Linked DNA regions of Homo sapiens: region 2 is linked to region 1. The links are contacts of gene promoters, found by promoter capture Hi-C in human tissues and cell types (Jung and others, 2019). All regions are on one chromosome and are shown on one strand. The core of a region is centred on a gene start or on the middle of the fragment in contact, and the rest is flanking DNA. Distances in the headings are between cores, read along the strand shown.

Region 1 (6,400 bases), core at 2,026-4,525:
ATTTGCCCATCTTTTTGTTTTCTGGAAATTGTGTTCCAGGTCAGGGATTGTGGAAGAAGATGAAACACTCTCTCAGTCATTTACTTCCTCTGGCTTCACTCTGATAGGAAAGCTGTTCAGCAGTCTATGACTTTGCTTCTTGAGGGATGATCAGTTCTTCAGGCCCCTGTGTGAAGTGGACATTTTACTCTTTGTTCCTTTCTGAGTCTTTCATTGGTCTCTTCCCTCCCTTCTTGTCTCTGAAGGCCCCTGCTCTTATGCTGTATGGTGCTGACAGCTTCCTTCTTATTAGGACAGAGTTTGCCTTTGTGGTTCATCAGGATGCAGTTTTGCTTCTAGTCATAGGCAACAGGGAATCTGACCTCTTCAGATGGAAAAGATCTAAAGAATTCCAGCTTAAGTTATGACCTCCTGAACTCTATGGCTAGAAATACTAGTGTGATCCGGAAGAGGCCACTGCCACCATTCCTGAGGCTGCTTCTCCCAGAAGAGATGCCCTCAACCCTCCAGCACGTGTATAAACATAAAAGGTGACTCTTCCACCCATGTGCCTACAAGGGACTGGCTAAGCCATTGAGGCATGACTGGATCTTCACGTTGCTTATGGGGGTCTGGCATTAGGTCCTATAAGCTATAATGTCTGTTGCAGACCTTCCAGGAGGCAGGGTTTAATGCCATGTGATTACTTTCTTCACAGAGCTTGTCCTCTGGTGGCTAAAGCAATGCTCAGTACTTAAAGACCCTCGAGATTATCTAATACAAACTTTGCCCTGATGAATCCATCATATGGTAAATGGGCCCAATGTCAGCATTCACATCTCTGGGACCTGGAAGCTCAGTGCCTCCAAGACATTTATGAGCATTGGGATTATTCAAAGACTTTAATTTGAAGTGGGTATTTTGTACTTGTACAGGGCAAAGAGTGTTGGTTCCTCAGTGGGAAGGAGCTGAGGCCTTGGGTCTTGGCCGGTGGACAGACAAGAGTCCAGCTCGCCATGGTTGACAAGCTCTTCTTGAGCACACCTTTGTTTGCATCTCCATCATAATTATTACTCATCACTTCCCATCTTTCTAGTCTCAAGTCTTACTTTTATTCCCCTTAATGCCCCGAATAGGTGCTCCTTTCCCACCTCGCTTGACCCTTTCCACACCTTCTGCTCCCAGCCTAGACTGTGCTCACCAGATGCCACTATCCCCCATTCTTTCTATCTGTTAACTTCTGCTTATCTTTGAGATGTCAGAATAAATGTCACTTCCTTTGGGAACCTGTTTGTATTCCATTAAATCTGAGTTTAGTATATTTCCCAATTAAGAGGCTGCTTAGTTATCTGTCATTCCCAAGTAACTATAAACTCTCTCAGGATAGGGGCTCTTTCCTTTACACCATTGTATTCGAGGGCCTAGCACAATGTCTGGAACATCTGTTTTCCAGTACATAATTGTTGAGTAAAAGTGGAATGGAGTCAAGACCAGTGCTATGTATATCTTTGGACTATATGTAACAGAAAACCCAAGCAAGAGTGGCTTTATGAGAATGTTTAATTGTGTATTTAATGTGGTGTTTAGGGGTAGGTAGGTCCATGAATCAGTGGTGTTATAGGCATATAACTTCTTTTGTCCTTTTCTCACCGTAATTTTCATGGTGATTTGCATCCTCCTCACCACCTAAAGATGGCTACCATGCTCCAAGCATTGCATTTTCATGGATCACTTTCAAAGAAAGGCAGAAAGGGGAAGACAGAAAAAAATGTTCTTCTCTCTGTTTCATCAACAAGATAACCTTTCCCACAAGACCATGTCTTTCTCTTCTATTTCATTGTTTAGAACTGGGCCACACGCCGACCCATAGACAAATCATTGACTCATCTTGGTGCTTTTAGCTGAAGTCATGCTGCACAAAGTTGGGGTTCTTTCAGCAAGAAATACAAGTAAATAGCGGATGGGTAAGAAGTGAATGATAGCCACCACTCGTGTCTTTAATGAAGTTTTACTAAAATCCAGAACTCCTTTCTTCAAATATGCATTTTACCTTAGATTGGTACTACTTACAAGGCAACATTCACACCGGCACATTATACTTCAGTATGGGTACCTCGGGAGCCTCTGGCATGAAGAGCTCTAGTTGTCTTCCTGTTTATTCTCATCAGCCACTTTCTCCTGGCCAGAGAGCACGTTGATCTCTCCTGAACACCAAGTTGGACACTTATGCCTGCTCAAGGCAATCAGTGTCTATTTCAGTCAGCAGAAACAGCCAAGTATCATCCCTAATAGTTTTCATTCCCAGCAAATTTTCTTCCATAGTCAAAGTGCAAGGATACAATAAGAGCCAATAAAATGACAAAAGTTTTCATCACAAACAAATTAACTGACTCTGGAATGGATCACAGTATACCTATTTTCTAATCAAAATATCAAATTCAGTGGTGTTGAAATTTGGGCTATATCCTTAATCCTCGGACTTTCTAGCATCTCTTCCCTCCACATACTTTGCTCATTTGAAAACTTTTGTAAACTCTAAAGAGAAAATGAAAAGAATCAAGTTATTAATATAGTTTACTTTTTAAAGCCTCTTTCTTCTTGGTTAGTGTAATGATTATGATGATGATTATTTCTCTCTTAGTGACTGTGGTGGGTGCTATCGTTGGCTTTTTATGACTATCATCTTAAATCTTTATATTACTGTATAGTTATTATTGACATTTTATGTACTAGAAACTGAAATTCCAGATTTTAAGTGATTTGTCCAGGGTCTTCAGTGAAGCACGGATTAGAACTCAGATTTTTCTAATTCCAAAATGATTCCTACATTCTCTATCATGAGCCTACCTCCCTTCCTTCAATTCTCATTGTCACCCCCAATATGTTCATTACTTTTTCAAAGTCTGCAGGGTTTTTATACATCTCTCACTGGCTAATCCTTTTATCTTAGGTTTTTAGCAAAGTGACTATTCTCATTCCTTGGCTGAGACATTTATGGATCGCATACAAAATGATTTCTCCTTCTAGTTTGCCAACTTCTTCCCCCGTCATTCCTCAGGTCTTGAGGCACTCATATCTAGCTCAATAAACAAACACTAGGAAAAAAACCCACAATAACCAGATTAACAGACCAATCCTGTTCCTGAGAAGATTTTCTCTCTTTCCTTTGTTAGTCTAATAGGCAAGGTGTGTACTAAGAGATTTTAAAAGCGCCTGGGAAGAGCAATCACAAGTTGTGACGATTCCAAGTTCACAGAAGCCCAAGGGATTTTGACATTTCTCCAAGGAGTTAGCCAGAAGAGATCCTCGCCGGTTGAGTTCAGATGGAAGAGAACAGTAAGAAGGACCATCGGGCTTTGCTCAACCAGGGAGAGGAGGATGAACTGGTGAGTCTTCCCTTTATTTTATTAGTCTTCTCAAAGAGCCCAAGGCGGTGAGTATGGGCTACAGCTGAATTAGAAAATAGAGTGTAGCATTTATGCTTCAGGCTTTAGGACCTTGAAAGGTTTCAGTCTGGTAAGGTTCCTTAAGGGCTGCAAAGCACCATTTTATTGTGGGGAAACCTGCAGGGGCTGAGAAACTTGTGACCTCTGGATGATAGAATTCTTGCCATCTTCATATGAACCTGTGATGTTTCCTCGCACATTTACAGTATTTGCAGAGCCCCGCATGGTGCTCAGTGGGGTGTCTCCCCCTTATTATCTGGATTGCTATGTGATGGAACAAACTCTATTGAAAACAAGAACTCTTTTTTATTCTCGTGCTTTGGGTATGTATGCATAACCTAGGCTTAGGGGGCTCTGGGCTGAAGTCATGCTTTTTATAAGCGCAGAGAGAAGTTTTAAGCATCAATTACTAAAGAAGGAGTAGAATGTGGCCTGGGATTTTTAACACATATTTTAAACATTTCTCATGTCTCCAATTTTTTCCCCACTCTTGTTTTCATCAAACACACACACACACACACACACACATTTAAAAATAATAATTAAAAAGTTGAAAACTATAGTGTTTATTTGGTGCTGAGGTGTTTATATTTATGATTTTATATAATCCTCAGACCTCAGTGATGAAAGAACTAATCCTATTTAATTGAAAAGAAATCTGAGACCAGGGAGGTTAAATAACTTGCCCAAGGTCATTAGCCTGCAAGGGACAGGCTGGGAATCCAGCCGACTCCTTCTCCACATCCTGTGCTGTTCACCATACAACAGTGGCTCCAGCTAGACAATGAAGAAAGGAGACAGAGACAGACAGGGGAAGGGTCAGAGTGAGGGCACATTTGGGGGCCCCAAAGAACTTGGAGAACATGGTTTGTAGATTAGAATGATGTCAGTTTCCTGGCTGGCATCCTGGTTCCCTGTGAGATCTGGGGCAAATCCATACCGGCTCTCCCTCCACCTATCCCTGTTTGCTACTCTAAGGAAAACATATGATTTCATCTACATCTATGTTGTTCAATAAGGCAGCCATGGGCCACGTGTAGTTTCTGAGCACTAGAAAAGTAGCTAGTCCACACAAAATATGCTTTATGTGTAAAATACGCACCAGATTTTGAAGAATTTAGTAAAAAAAAGTAAAACATCTTATTAATAATTTTTATATTGTTTACACATTGAAATGACAATATTTTAGATAGCTTAGGTAAAAATTTCACCTGCTTCTCTTTACATCTTTAATGTGGCTGCTAGGAACGTTAATATTAAGAAGGCAGCTCATATTTGTGGCTTGCATTATTGTAGCACGCTAAGCTTGACAATAGCACAGCACTTTAAAATCTTCAGAATTAAAGCTTTTAAAGAATGAAAATCTATTCACCTGTGTTCACTGCTGAACAATTCTGTTAGCTCTGATGTTTTCAACATGTAGATAAGAGTGCATGAAAAATTACATTGCTCTTTATTCTTCTCTAACTAGTTGCTTTATTTGTAAAGTTTATAGCCTGATACTTTAATTCTCTCACTCACAAACAGGACATTGGTATCATAGGATTAAATAATGAGCCAGGTGCCCCAGTTTTCTTCATTTTTGCAGGTGATCAAACCCTTTTACAGACACTCACCAGAAATGTCTATTAGGAATCCAAGTAAGCTTAACTCATTGTGGGGAAGGGGAGATGGCTCTAGATTTCTTTTTCAGAATTCTGGGGCGTAGAGCACAGATGCAAATCCTATTCTGGTTGATCAGGTAATCCACAGACTCCGCTAGGCCTGAGGGAGCTGGGGTGACCGAACTGTGGAAGCTGTGACTTAGCTCCAGGCAATTGCTGAACTGATCTTGCAATTGCTAGCCTTTTAGAAGGAAGCCGGATGGGGAACAACACATACTGGGGCCTATCAGAAGGTGGGAGATGGGAGAAGGGAGAGCATCAGGAAGAATAGCTAATGGATGCTGGGCTTAACACCTAGGTGATGGGTCAATCTGTGTGGCAAACCACTATGGCACACTTTTACCTAAGTATCAAACCTGCACATCCTGCGCATGTACCCCTGAACTTAAAATAAAAGTTGGAAATTAAAAAAAGAAAAGAGACCCCTGGCCAGGCATGGTGGCTCATGCCTGTAATCCCAGCACTTTGGGAGGCTAAGGTGGGAAGATCTCTTGAGGCCAGAAGTTCAAGACCAGTCTGGTTAACATAGCAAAAGCCTGTTTTTCTTATAAATAAAAGAAAAGAGAACCTAGAGATCTCCCTTGTCCCTTCTACCATGTGAGGGCACAGAGAAAAGATGGCAGTCTATGCACCAGAAGGAGGGTCCTCATCAGACACTGGATCTGCCAGCACCTTGATCTTGGACTTCCCAGACTCTAGAAATAGATGTTTTTAAATCTAAAAGGTAAAAAATAAATAAATCGAGGGAAGCCAGAAATCTGACTTTTTATGTGATGTAGCCTGATGATAAATTTTGAAAACAAATTCATCTTTTGAAAACAATCAGTAGGTCAAAGTAAACCTGGGCATGGTTTAGTCCCAGCCTTGGGGGCTGTCGCTCTCTGATGTTGACAGCCTCGCCCCACTTGCTCTTCCTTCCCCGAAGATTCCCTGTGGCCCGGTCTAACTTCTACTCGCATTCATTATTTCAAGTGAACAATCCGTTGTGATCGTGAGAGTCACTGTGGTAAAAATTAGAGACAGTCGAGGCAAATAATGAACTCCTTCAATCAAACACCCATGAAGAGCCTAAGTGGATGGAGGGGCGATGCTGTGAGATTATGCAAGCTCAGTCTTGCGTGATTCTGCTGAGCTCAGCATGGAGATAAAGCCTTGCACTGGCCTCTAGAGCTGAACCCTGTTATCATTCCCATCTCCTGTTCTCATCCTGGTAGTGCTTACTGTCCTGGGCATGGTGCGGTACTAGGTGCTTGACACACAGGTTTTCATTTTACCCAAAACTTTACAACAGCCCTGCAATCAATATTCTCA
Region 2 (4,563 bases), core at 1,699-4,198, 63 kb after region 1:
CTGGAAGGCTCTCAGAGACAGAGAATTAATCTTGTACAGTCCCCTGACTCAGAGATGGATAATTGTAGGTGATACTGGAGATGACTTGCTCAAGTCACAATGCTGGTTGGTGGCAGAACAAGGATGGTACTTGAGAGCTTCTGACTCCAAGATACCAGTGTGTTATCTCTGCTTGGCACTATGTTATGTCAACTTTAGTCGCAGCTCTCATCCCATCAAAACAACCAACGCTCCTTCAACCTCAGAGCATTATGTGACCAATCAACTTGGGTGGCCCATACACAGAGAGGTTGAGAGAGGGAGACAGTTGGCACTTTGAAAGATTTTGAGAATACTTTAGACGTGGTTTTTTCAGTGCTCAATACTACAACATCTCCTTCGTATCTGTGAAGGTAACAAGGGCAAATTGAATTACTTATGAGAAATAAAATTCAGTATTCTTAATTACATTACAGGGATAAGTTGTCCTCATTAGAGGATAATTTATAAATTATTATTTCTTTCAACGTTCTTCAGTTTTTAAAGGCTATTTTCAAATTATCTATGACAAAGGAGTAAAAAAATACTGTGGAAAACTGAATAGCAGAAAATCTATTTATTTCTTACATTGGATTTGTGTTGCTGATAAATGCTAATTTATATACAGCTAGCTCCTTCATGTAAAATAGTGATATCCTTGGTTTAACATTATTATTTGCAACCTAAGTCCATTGACTCTAAGTTAATTAGTAAACACAGTCCCTTCCTTACTCTGTGCTTGTTTCACCATCTATAAAATATGCAATTGGATGATCTCCAAGAAGGCCTTCAGCCATGACATTTTAATACTTGAAACAGGATCACAAAGCTTATTTTGAAATATATGAATGTCATTCTCAGATTTAACATTCCAGGTGTTAGCTATTCTTGAGCAAACATAAAGGTCCAGACCACATAGGATTTGTAATTTTCTAAACACAAATTTGAATAATCAACGTTAAGGACATGTGTGAAGAAAAGATCTATGTAGCTAGTGATGGAGTGTAGCCATCATCCAGCTGTCACATACAAACGCAGCTGTGTTGTTCTCATGTAAGAGCCACTAGTGGGATAGACATTATAAATATAACAAAATAAGAAAATGAAGATAAAATGTGCTATATTTCCAACCATTCCAGGTTTTTTTGGGGAATATCAGGAACTTATTATACTTCTTAGAATTTAGTTACTATTTTCAAACAGGGTAAAAGGATAGGGTTTTGGTTTTTCTTAGAATCAAATTCTATTTAGCAAAGTTTTCCAACTAGAAAAATTTAAAACTTCTTAAAAATTGGAGTCATAATGGGGAAGTAGAAAAGTTTTTTGAGATGACGTAAAAAGTCACCCCAAACTAAAACAGCAGGATAAATACTCCATCAAGGCTCACCCCTTCACCAGTTTAGCAAATCTGTATTGAACTTAACTGTATGTCAGACGCTCAAGGAATTGAGAACTTATTTGGAAGTGAATAAAATAAAATCCTTGTCCTCATGAATATATCCTAGTTGGGGAAATAGATTAGAAAATAAACCCATAAAATATTATCCCACTAGTGGTTCTTAAATGACCTGAGGGGGAAAATATAAAGTAAGTTAAGAGGACTTTTTAAAAAAGACAGAGAATGTCATTTTGCCTAGGCAATCAGCAAAGTCCTCAGAGGAGCAACATTTTAACAGACATTTAATAAAATAAGAGAGAAAGACACGCAGATATCCAGAGGAAGAGCATTGCAGGGAATAGAAATGGTGGGTACAAAAGCTTTGACACAAGCACTGCTGGGAGTGTTGTAGGGTAACAAGCAGCCAAGTGCCTAAAGTAGTGAACGAGAAGAAGCATCATAAAATAGAAACAAAGAACATTTGCCTGTTTTTGCTTTTGTTGCCTGTGCTTTATGTGTCATAGCCATGAAATCATTGCCAAGACCAATATCAAGAAGATTTCTCCCTATGTTTTCCTCTAGTAGTTTCACGGTTTCAGGTCTTATGTTTAAGTGTTTAATCCATTTTGAGTTGATTTTTACGTATGGTATAAGATAAGGGTCCAATTTCATTCTTTTGCTGGTGGATATTAAACTGAAAAGTTTTGCACAGCAAAGGAAATAACAGAGTGAAATAGCAACCTATAAAATGGCAGAAAATCTCTGCAAACCATATATCTGATAAGACATTAACATCCAAAATGTACAGAGGACACAATTCAATAGGAAAAATCAATAAATAATCCAATTTAAAAATGAACAAAGGCCCTGAATAGACATTTCTCCAAAGACGTACAAATGACCAACAGATATATGAAAAAGTGCTCAACTTTACTAGTCATTAGGGAAATGCAAATCAAAACCACAATGAAATACCACCTCATACCTGTAAGGATGGCTATTTGAAACAAAAACAAAAGAACAAGTTGACAAGGATATAGAGAAATTAGAACCTTTGTAAAATGGTACAGCTGCTATGGAAAACAATGTGGAGGTTCTTTAAAAAATTAAAAATAGAATGTTTTTAATTTTTTAAAACATTGGATCACCAGGTGATCCAATGGTCCAAAATCCCACTTCTGAGTATATATCCAAAAGAACTGACATTGGGATCTCAAAAAAAGGTATCTTCACCTTTATGTTCATTGCAGCATTATTTATAATAGTCAAGATATGGAAACAACCTAAATGTTCATCATTGGATGAATGGATTTTAAAAATGTAATATGTACATATAATGGAATATTATTAAGCCTTAGAAAAGGAGAAAATCTTGCCATATGAGACAACATGAATGAAACTGAAAGACATCATGCTAAGTGAAATAAACCAGTCACAGAAGGCCTAATACTGTGTGATCCTACTTATCTGAAGCATCTGAAATAGACATATTCATAGAAGTAGAGAGTAGAGACTAGAATTGTGATTACCAAGGGCTAGGGGGAGGGGGAAATAGGAAGTTGTTGTTAATGGATATAAAGTTTCAGTTATGCAAGATGAATACATTCTAGAGAAGTGATTTTAACACACACACACACATAAAACAGGGTAGAAGGAAACTTTTTGAGGTGATGGATATGTTTATTACCTGGATTATGGTAATGGCTTCACAGCTGCATGCATATTGTTCAGATCTATCTCCCTGTAATCTTAACACCACGGTGCACAGCAAAATGAACAAAGATCAAAAAAGAGTTCTTGGCCCCCAAATTTACTTTTTAAAAAGCCACCCAAGAGTGATTCCATTTCAGAGGAACGTTCCTACATAACTAATGCAACCCAGTTGGACTATAAGCCATCACTTTCAAATTCCGAAAACTGTTCAGAGCCCTGTCTGATGCCAGTAAATATTATTCAAGGCGACAGATGGAAACTAAGATGAATGACACTGTATTCAACTACTACTATCGTGTCTTGTATGTATGCAGAATGCCCTTAATAAATGCCAAATAAACTGAAACGATTGCAAGCTCAAAAAAGACAAAGCACTGAGAAATTAAAAAATAAAGTATATTTGATTAACATATTTAAAAACCAACAGAAGAGTTGGAAGATAAGCACATTGTTTTTAAAAATAAAGTTGGAAACTGGAAAAAACAGATTTAGAAGTGGTTGCCTCTAGGAAGGAGAGGGGTGAGGTGGTGTGGAGACAGACTACTGGTTTTCATTATAAGCTTTTAAGTTCATTTTGATTTTTAAAATGTGCCTGTATTGCATTAATAAAACTTATAAATTTTTAAAAGAAGAAATAAATTGAACTATGGAGCCTACGTAGATATACTTTAATATTGATTTTCTCCTGAATACAAAGAGAAAAAGTGGAGTCAGAGTTAACATTTCTGGGACTTCTCATCATGGAGAATCGCTTGAAAAAAGAAACCAAACTGGTCTTGAAGGAACTGAGTGAGGCCCGTATCAGGACTGTGATGATTACAGGTATGTATTTGTTTCTAGGGGCCTGGCAAGTTGATTGTATCCTAGGCATAAGAACAAGATGTGTGAGCTGAGTGAGTTCATGTATCAGAGACAGGGAAAAATGTTCTGTTGTCGAATTTGTTACCCTGTAGTCCCTTACCTAAAAACATGTGCAGCTGCCCCGACAGGACCAGAAGCTTTGAAGGTAGGGACCGTATCTCATCCTCTTTGTCTAATGACTACCCCTCCCAGCCAGGATCTGTGCGGTGCCTCAAGGCTCACAGTAAATGAGCAAGAATGGGTGTGTTCTCATCAAGAAACCCAGTGATCCCTCTGCATAGAGGATTGAGTCTCTGGTTGATGGTCCTCTAGGGCAGTAGGGCCAGGCATGGTGTATGATCGTCAAACCCAAGCACAGCCTGACCCTGTGTGTTCTTTGCTTAGTTAGTTTCCAGATCCCGTGGATGGTTTAAGCTATCAGGCTGAGATCATGCTATATTCTCCACTAAGAGTTGTCTGTCTTCTGAGGATTGGTCATAAATGCTTAAGTATTTCTTTATTAATTCACACATGTTTTGAAATACACATGGACCAGGATATGATGCAGAATATGGAGAGGGAGATGGGAACATAGTGTTTGCCCAGTAGGGGCA

Evidence for each region. The method cuts DNA at HindIII sites, captures the fragments that hold promoters and counts their contacts. A contact is called where the count stands out against the background at its distance.
Region 2: a fragment that was not itself captured here is called in contact with the fragment with the promoter of ATP13A5 in region 1 in 1 of the 25 tissues and cell types used here (heart right ventricle).

What each region holds. Positions count from the first base shown.
Region 1 is chr3:193,375,628-193,382,027 of GRCh38, reverse strand. ATP13A5 (ATPase 13A5) reads left to right here and starts at 3,275. Exons shown (of 30, transcript NM_198505.4): 1 at 3,275-3,365. The coding sequence starts at 3,303. The HindIII fragment of the contact is 10,323 bases long and covers 1-6,400 here.
Region 2 is chr3:193,314,340-193,318,902 of GRCh38, reverse strand. It overlaps ATP13A5 (ATPase 13A5), which reads left to right. Exons shown (of 30, transcript NM_198505.4): 18 at 3,807-3,931. ATP13A5-AS1 (ATP13A5 antisense RNA 1) reads right to left here. Exons shown (of 2, transcript NR_046758.1): 2 at 4,382-4,563. Among named protein-coding and RNA genes, the nearest start is that of ATP13A5-AS1, 9.4 kb to the right of the region's middle. The HindIII fragment of the contact is 3,272 bases long and covers 1,313-4,563 here.